Regions from separate parts of the Homo sapiens genome. Here all the other regions are linked to region 3. Evidence: promoter capture Hi-C in 16 types of primary human blood cells and fetal thymus (Javierre and others, 2016). All regions are on one chromosome and are shown on one strand. The core of a region is centred on a gene start or on the middle of the fragment in contact, and the rest is flanking DNA. Distances in the headings are between cores, read along the strand shown. Region 1 overlaps SLC8B1 (solute carrier family 8 member B1). Region 2 holds the start of LHX5 (LIM homeobox 5). Region 3 holds the start of DTX1 (deltex E3 ubiquitin ligase 1).

What was found. The method cuts DNA at HindIII sites, captures the fragments that hold promoters and counts their contacts. A CHiCAGO score of 5 or more calls a contact.
Region 1: a fragment that was not itself captured here is called in contact with the fragment with the promoter of DTX1 in region 3 in 5 of 17 cell types (naive CD4 T cells, naive B cells, naive CD8 T cells and 2 more); the score reaches 7.9 in naive CD4 T cells.
Region 2: a fragment that was not itself captured here is called in contact with the fragment with the promoter of DTX1 in region 3 in 1 of 17 cell types (total B cells); the score reaches 5.4 in total B cells.

The regions. Positions count from the first base shown.
Region 1 is chr12:113,331,300-113,333,999 of GRCh38, reverse strand. SLC8B1 (solute carrier family 8 member B1) reads left to right here. Exons shown (of 16, transcript NM_001358345.2): 2 at 1,040-1,277. The coding sequence starts at 1,122. Among named protein-coding and RNA genes, the nearest start is that of SLC8B1, 2.5 kb to the left of the region's middle. The HindIII fragment of the contact is 1,455 bases long and covers 523-1,977 here.
Region 2 is chr12:113,469,843-113,472,542 of GRCh38, reverse strand. It overlaps LHX5 (LIM homeobox 5), which reads left to right and starts at 672. Exons shown (of 5, transcript NM_022363.3): 1 at 672-1,217. The coding sequence starts at 1,045. It overlaps LHX5-AS1 (LHX5 antisense RNA 1), which reads right to left and starts at 540. Exons shown (of 2, transcript NR_126425.1): 1 at 461-540. RefSeq lists an enhancer at 790-1,590. The HindIII fragment of the contact is 214 bases long and covers 1,330-1,543 here.
Region 3 is chr12:113,055,391-113,058,090 of GRCh38, reverse strand. DTX1 (deltex E3 ubiquitin ligase 1) reads right to left here and starts at 1,361. Exons shown (of 10, transcript NM_004416.3): 1 at 1,147-1,361; 2 at 1-642. RefSeq lists an enhancer at 1-123. The HindIII fragment of the contact is 5,893 bases long and covers 1-1,858 here.

The DNA.
Region 1 (2,700 bases), core at 1-2,500, 280 kb before region 3:
TGGTGGCTCACGCCTGTAGTCCCAGCACTTTGAGAGGTCAAGGCCGGCAGATCACTTGAGGCTAGGAGTTCCAGACCAGCCTGGCCAACATGGCGAAACCCCGTCTCCGTTAAAAATACAAAAATTAGCTGGGCATGGTGGTGTGTGCCTGTAATCCCAGCTACTCGGGAGGCTGAGGCAGGAGAATCACTTGAACCCGGGAGGCAGAGGTTGCAGTGAGCTGAGATCGCGCCACTGCACTCCAGCTTGGGTAACAGAGTGAGACTCCATCTGAAGAAACAAACAAAAAACAAAAAACACTCCTCTGAGCCCCTCTCCCTGCTGTGCAGGGTGGGGTGGGGGGCGGGGGGGTGACATTTCCAGAATTGTTCTGAGGACTGCATGAGGGAGGCGTGATGCAGGGGGGAAACAAGCCTGGCTTCACCTGTCTGTGCCTCAGTTAGTTCATCTGTAAAATGGAATGCTAGTGCTACCCCCGCTCGGCATGTCGTGAGGATAGAATGAGGTCATCCATGTAAAGCTTGGCTCCTTGTAAGACACAGAACAACAGCATTGCTTAGTGGGCTCTGTAAAATGTGGTGGGCAAGCCTCTCTACGTCTCAAACTGGTGGCCCAGAGGCCAAGTCCACCCCTAGAAGTAGAGTTTGTTTTGTTTTGTTTTGAGGGCTTCTGCAATCCCGCCCACTGCCCACTTCCCACATGTATCTCACCCACCTGCCCCAGAAGCCTGAGACTCTGAATCTTGGCTCAAGTCCCAAGTCCCTTGCAGCCCTGGCATTCTGGCCTCAGGCTGGGGGCCAGGTGGGACTGGGTAGGTTTTCATGGGTTCTCAGGAAGAAGGGCGTATCTGATCTGCACGCTGAATGGGCAGGGCCTTGGGCCCCTCCAGCGAGACTGTGCAGAACATGGTTTCTCCGTCAGCTTAACTTTGCTGCCGGGAGGCAGGAAGGCAGTTCCTTAACTAGAGTCTTCCAGCCCCTTTTGCTGTGTCCATGGGTTTTCAGTAATGTTGTCCCCCTTTCTCACTCCCACCTTGCAGGCCACCGGAGCCGCCAGCTGTTTGGAACTGAGCTACTGCAGAAAGGGAAGTGGAGAGTAAGGGCCAGGCCCCGTGGGGGCAGATGGCCGGCAGAAGGCTGAATCTGCGCTGGGCACTGAGTGTGCTTTGTGTGCTGCTAATGGCGGAGACAGTGTCTGGGACTAGGGGCTCGTCTACAGGAGCTCACATTAGCCCCCAGTTTCCAGCTTCAGGTGTGAACCAGACCCCCGTGGTAGACGTGAGTATCCCGGTAGGAACCTGGGGTTGAGTGGGGCTGTGTTCCTCCAATCGATAAATATCTATTGAGCATCTACTATGTGCCAGGCACTGACCGCAGCCTGGGATATACCGGGGAACAATAGAGACAAAATTCACTACTCTCAAGAAGCTGACAGTCTCCTGAACAGACAGATCAAGAAGTAAACTTATACACTTTGGGAGGCCAAGGCAGGAGGATCACTTGAGGCCAGGAGCTGGAGACCAGCCTGGCCATCGTGTCAAAACCCCGTATCTACTAAAAATACAAAAATTAGCTGGGCATGGTGGCAGGTGCCTGTAATCATCAGAACCCTGAGGCAGGAGAATTGCTTGAAACCGTGAGGTGGATGTTGCAGTGAGCCAGGATTGTACCACTGCACTCCAGCCTGGGCGGCGAAGCAAGACTCTGTCTCAACAACAAAAAAAAGAGAAGTAAGCATATACATTTCAGGTGGCGATGTGCTAAGTGCCCCGCACACAATAGCTAAAGTGGTATGGGGGAGGGCGTGAGCTTTTCCAACTATTTCAGATTGGGTGGTCACAGATGGCTTCTGTGAGGGGGTGATATTTGAGGCAAGCCAGCGAATGGAGAGAGGAAACCACCTACATTGACACCCCGGGGAAGAGCATTCTGGGCAAAGGGAACAGCAAGTACAAAGATTCTGGAGCAGGAACAAGCTTAGTGTGTTCCCGTAACAGCAGGGAGGCTAGAATGGATGGAACAGAGCAAGTGAGGGGAAGAATGCTAAGAGAGGAGGATGGAGAGGTAATGGCGGGCAGATTACAAAAGGCCTTACAGGCTGCGGCTAGGAGGTGAGAATTGTTTTGCGATAGTGGGGAGCCAATGGAAGGTTTTAAGCAGAGGGTCCCAAAATCTGTGTTAGTCGGAGTTCTCTAGTGGGACAGAACTAATAGGATAGATGTATATGTAAAGGGGAGTTTTTAAAGGAATATTGACTCACATGATCACAGGTGAGGTCCCGCAATAGGTCATCTGCAAGCTGAAGAGCGAGGAGGTCAGTCTGAGTCCCAAAACCTCAAAAGCAGGGAAGCTGACAGTGCAGCCTTTAGTCTGTGGCTGAAGGTCCAAGAGTCCCAAAGCTGAAGAACTTGGAGTCTGATGTTTGAGGGCAGGAAGCATCCAGCATGGGAGAAAGATGCAGGCCAGAAGACCAAGCCAGTCTAGTCTTTCCACATTCTTCTGCCTGCTTTTATTCTGGCTGTGCTGGTAGCTGATTAGATTGCACCCACCCAGATTGAGGGTGGGTCTGCTTTTCCCAGTCCACTGACTCAATTTTTTTTTTTTTTTTTTTTTTCGAGAACAGTCTCACTCTATACCCAGGCTGGAGTGCAATGGCACGATCTCAGCTCACTGCAACCTCCACCTCCCGGGTTCAAGCGAT
Region 2 (2,700 bases), core at 187-2,686, 410 kb before region 3:
AAATGGCACCCCTCCTGCTCCCCCGCCTCCCCACCCTGGGCCTGGGCCTGGGCTCGGCGGCCGGGCGGGGAAAACTACCCAGGCCGCGCGGTCTCCACTAGCTCTCTCCATGAGAAAGGCCCGGCTGGGCCCCAGCCCCGTGTATGACAAAAAGAAGCCGGGGCCGGCTCCAGGAGCCGGGAGAACCGCGCTGACGCAGCTTCAGGGCGCAGAGGGGGCGCGGGGGTGGGGGAATCCAATCTGGGCTGGCTGGGCTGGAGAAGGGGAGCGAAGTGTGGGGCGTGGGGCAACTTCTGCAAGTTCCAGGGATGGCGAAGGGGGCAGGGGTACCTCCCGGACTAGGCCTTGGAACCCGTGACCCCCAAATATTTGTGAGGAGAAAGAGAGAGGAAGAGAGACGCAATTTTCGTTTCGCGCTGCCCCCGCCCCGTCAGCCCCAAACTGGAAGGTAAATACTTACTTAGCCTCCGAACCAGGTACAAGCTAATACTCAACAATACTGATGCCTTGTTTTTTTTGCTCTGTCCGGACAGCAACGCTGTAGCCAATTTAGATATGCTATAAATTTAAGAGGTTGCCATGGCCACGGTGCGCCCATTGGCCGCTGGGCCCCCTACGTGCAGCGCCACGTCACCAAATCTGAATAAGGATGCGCGAATTACGCGGCGACCAGACAAAGATGAGGATCCGGACCGCTTGAAAGTGGGGGAAAGTGCCGGCGCCTCCGCCACCGGGGAAAGCCGCTCCGCAGCGCCGAGGCCAGCAGCCACCCGAGATACCTGGGGAAGCCCGGAACAGGCGCCGGGGCGTGCGGCCCGTGGCATGAGGTTGTGAACGCCACCCGCCCCCCACCACCCCACTCCGGGCAGCCCAGCGCCAGGCCAGAGATTGCCCAAGGACTGGACCGGCTGAGTCTTGGTCCGGACCAGACTCGCCCTGCAGCTGCTGAGACAAGAGGCGAAGGGCAGCGGAGGGCCCGGCAGGCCCGAGGGCCAGGGGCCCAAAGGGAGGGCAAGGCGGCCGAAGCCGCCGGGGCGCGGGGCTATGATGGTGCACTGCGCCGGTTGCGAGCGGCCCATCCTCGACCGCTTTCTGCTGAACGTGCTGGACCGCGCGTGGCACATCAAATGTGTTCAGTGCTGCGAGTGCAAAACCAACCTCTCGGAGAAGTGCTTCTCGCGCGAGGGCAAGCTCTACTGCAAAAATGACTTTTTCAGGTAAGAGGCCGCGCCGCTCTGCTGCCTGCGCGCCCACCCTGCGCGCGCTCCACTGGGGCGCTGGGGAAGGGGATACCCCCATCCCCATCCCAGCCTCCCCGGATCACAAGCTTAGATGGGGAGCGGGCAGCACTTTGCTCTCCTCCTGTCCTTGGTCCAGGAAAGGTCCCGAGCCCAGGCGGAGGAAGAAGGACGCTGCTTCGCTGCCTCACGTTGGCTCGAGGCCGGCTCAGAGCGCTGGCGGGGCAGAGGGAGGAAGCCCTGACAAACTTGCTATCCACTCCTCTCCGCCCCTTCCAAGCAGCTGCAACCCCAAGACAGAAGCTTCAAGCCCCGTCCCGAGAGAGAGGAAGGATTTTTGCATGAGTTAGAGACGCCTGAAGGCTTCTCGCTCCAGGCAGAATGTGTGAGCCCATCGGCCGCAATCCCAAACAGAAACTTCTCAGCTCCAGAGGGGGCCCAGCGAGGAAGGTCTCCCCTGGTGATGGGAGGAGAGAACCTCCCCCACCCACCTCCCAACCCCTTAAACATTTCCTCCCATGTTGAAAAGTAGAAACGAAATCGAGGCTGAGAATCAGGACCTCTGGGGTCTAGACTGGGCTGTGGCACCTCCCCAGCCCCCCTACCCCTGTGGGCCCTGTGGCTGGCCAGGGCAGATCACCTCTCTGGGCCTCAGTTTCCCCAGCCTGGAAGCCACTGGAGTTTGGGGCAGCTGAGCCCTACCTGTTTCCTCTGGGCACCCAGAGCCGGCTTTGTGAACAGGAATTCCCCGCGCTGAGGAATGGGGGCGTGAATCACGCCACAGAGAAAGGCAGCCTGCCGGCCCCAGCGACTCCGCACTGAGAATTTGAATGGGAGAAAATGTCAGCCGCTCCTTTACACGTGTTAACTCCCTGGACCCGGAGGCCCGATGCCCCTAATGTAGCAGTGCTTGCAAAGTGCCTAATGATTTTTGATAAGGTGCATATGGCCAATTACGCTGCCGGATAAGGCCAAAAGTGACTTATGGCTTCTAATGCCCTCACTACATCAATGTCACCCAAATTCGCCCTGTTTAGAGACATGGGTGTGAGTAGATGTGGGGTCCCTAGAGTCCTGGGTCCTCCCCCACCCCACCCCCAACCTGAGCCTCACCCATCTCCTATTTCGGGGGAGGCTGGCTTTCTCCCTGAGCTCAAAGAAGAAAGAAAAGGAATGAGATCAGGAACGCGGGAAAGCGGGGATTTGAGAGATTCCTGTCCTGGCCTTGCAGGATCTATGATTGTCCTCTATTCACATTCCCCTGCTGCCTGCCAGGCCAGAGGTTTAGGGGGGCTGAAACTCATCCCTGCTCTCTAGGGTCCATCACTATGAGGCCCTGCTGTCCACAGCTCCTGATTAGCTCCAGCGGGTCCCAGAGCGGTGGATTGGAAAGCCTCTCCATTGGTACTGGAAATCAGTGGAAGGTTCCCTCCTTTCTGCTTCCTCCTTCCAGCCTAGGAGA
Region 3 (2,700 bases), core at 112-2,611:
AGGACCGTCTGGCCTCCTTTCTAACTCTGGGTTCTCTCTGAGGCCTAGAGACCTCCGTTAAAGGAATGTGGGATGGCCATCCAGGCTGCAAAGACCCCTTCCCTGTAGAGCCTTCTCCGATAAAGGGTGCTGCCCTGGAAAGCAAGTGTCTCTCTTATGCCGGAGGAAACAGCTCTAAAGTCCTTGGCCCCCTCGGCTGGCTCAGGTAGGGAGTGAGGCAGCCGCCCCTGTTCGAGGTCCAGCCTCTTCCGTGTTGTCTCTTGGTCCCTCTTCCCCGCCAGACAGGGCCTGTCACCCAGGAGGCCTGGGCCACAGCCTGCTGCTCCTGCGGCTCTCAGCCAGCCCTTTGCACTCCCAACTGCGTCCCAGACCCTGCGCCCGGCTTCAGTGGGGCTTCTCGCCTCCCTCCGGTCTGGGCCCCCTTCTCCGACGGCTCCTGCCGAAGGGGGCGTCCCTGCCCCCTTGTTCCCTCTCCACGGTGTCCTGGAAGGCCTGGGTGGCCGCAGAACGCACGGGGGAGGGGTGCGGCGTGGACCCTCGGGCGGCGCGCCTGGACTGCGGCTCCGGAGCTGGGCTGGGGGACGAGGGGGACGAGGGGGGCGGGGGCCCGTGGGCACGCCCCACCCCACTCGTGCTCGCGACCTGCCAGGAGACAAGAGGGGAGAGGGCCCTTTAAGAGGAGAGCGCAGCACCCCCTCCCCCCTTCCCAGGAGAGCATTCGGCTGAGAACAATGGGGAACCGAAGGGGGACAGCAAGGGGGGCGTACGGGGTCGCCCCGCCCGCTTTCCCTTGGGGCAGGCCTGGAGGGAAGGCAGGGGCCGGGGGCGCGGTTTTCCGAGACTCTCCGCCTGGGGGGCGCCCTCCTTGGCTCCCGGAGCCTTCCCTTCCCCCGGGGCCCTCGCCCTGCCGGGGGGATGCCGGGTGCGCTGGGGTGCGCCGGGAAGCACGGGGATGCGCGGCGCTGCAGGCGCGGCCCAGGGCCCCTCGGGGGTCGCGTCGCGGAGGGGGCGAAGCCAGGAGCTGGATCGTCTCTGCCTCCCGCCCTGGGGGTAACAGCCCCGCTTCCCCAGCCCAGACGTCCCCGAGCCGCTCGCGGGCCCCCAGCGGGAGCCGGGGGTGGGGTCCCTAAGCACCCGCGTTCTCACCGCCTCTCTTCGTCTCCGGCTCCGGCTCCGGCTCGCGCTCCAGCACCGCCGCCTCCTGGGCTCCCCCCGGAGTGGGAGGGAGCCGCGGTCCCGCCTCCGCGCCCGTTCCCTCCCAGGCCCCTCGGCCGCCGCGCCGAGCTTTCCGCGCGTGGACAGACTGCCCGGCCGACGGACGGACGCAGGAGCCGGCTGGCGGCCGCCGGGATCTCGCGGGTGGGAGGAGGCCTCGGCCGTGCTCCGGGAGGGAGAGGGGAGGGGGCGGAGGAGGAGGAAGGGGAGGAGACAGATCTCGGCCCTGAGCGCCACCGGCGCTGACACGCGAGTCTCGGGGCGCCCCAAATCCTCGGCCAGGCCCTCCCGAGACCCCAAGGGGCCTTCTGACCCCAAGCAGAGCGTGAGGCAGGGAGTGGGATGTTTAGGAGTCACCGGCTTGAATCTTTGTCATCTTTATTTCCAGTCTCCCAGTCCAGGGCCTGGCACTGAATAGGTGCTCAATAAATGCTTGAATGAATGAATAAGATCCAGAGACTGTCTAAAGAAAGATCTTGAAGCATTCAGAGCTAGCCTCCTTTCCTCCTCTAACTATTCCTGGGGGTGGGAGGGTGCTGACAAGGCCTGATTCAGACTCAGTTGGAACCGTGGAATCTGAAGAGTACAGATGAGGAGACTGAAGCCAGAGAGAGTAAGAGCCAGGCCCAGGATCACAAAAGCTTAGAGCGATGCCCAGACACCAACCCCGATCTGAATCTCCTGCCAGTACCCAGTTCCCAGCCCTGAGCCCACTTCCCCCAAAGCACCCACCTGCTCCAGGTGAGAGGGGTGGGACCAGGGGAGGGGACCCTGGCCAGGAGGTGAGATCCTGGAGGAAGAGAAGGGCAGGCCCTCTGCCATGTCATTCACAGCCACCTGCAAACAACTGGTGCTCAATAAATGGTGGGTGAGCATTGGTTGGATGGAAGGGAAGGCTGGAAATGGCAGCGGCTCAAGTGTTAACGGGATGGCCAGTCCCCCTGTCCTCCAGCAAGCTGGATGCGGCTGAGACACACATTGGCTGGGAGGGGGGTGGACCACCTGGGGCCTGGGGGTGTTTAGATTGGGGAAGATGAAGGATGCGTCCGGGAACTCCAGCCTGGGTGGCTGACGGGGGTCAGTGGCCTGTTTGGGCGCCTGCCCAGAGCAGCCCACGCCTGCCTCCCCGGGGCAGATGGGGATACACTAGGCAGGGTCAGGGGCAGGCTGCTCAGGGGTGCTTTCCCAGAATCCAGCTCTGGCTCTCCGGCCAGCTGGAGGGACCTCCCCTCCCCAGGCCCCTGCTCTGACCTGCAGCCCAGTGTTGGATGGGCTTTTTCAGATTGGGTCAATGATTCTGCTTGCTTTCACCTGCTGTAGACTAAAGAGAGAGGCTTTGCATAGGGCAGGGCCAAGTCTGACGATACTCCCACAGGATCACTGAGTTCTGGGATTTTAGCCTAGGGTCCCTGGATGGCCTTCTGGGGTCCATGAAGTCCCCCTCTCCCATTACAGGCAAACTTGTGTGTCTAGGCATTGTGTGTC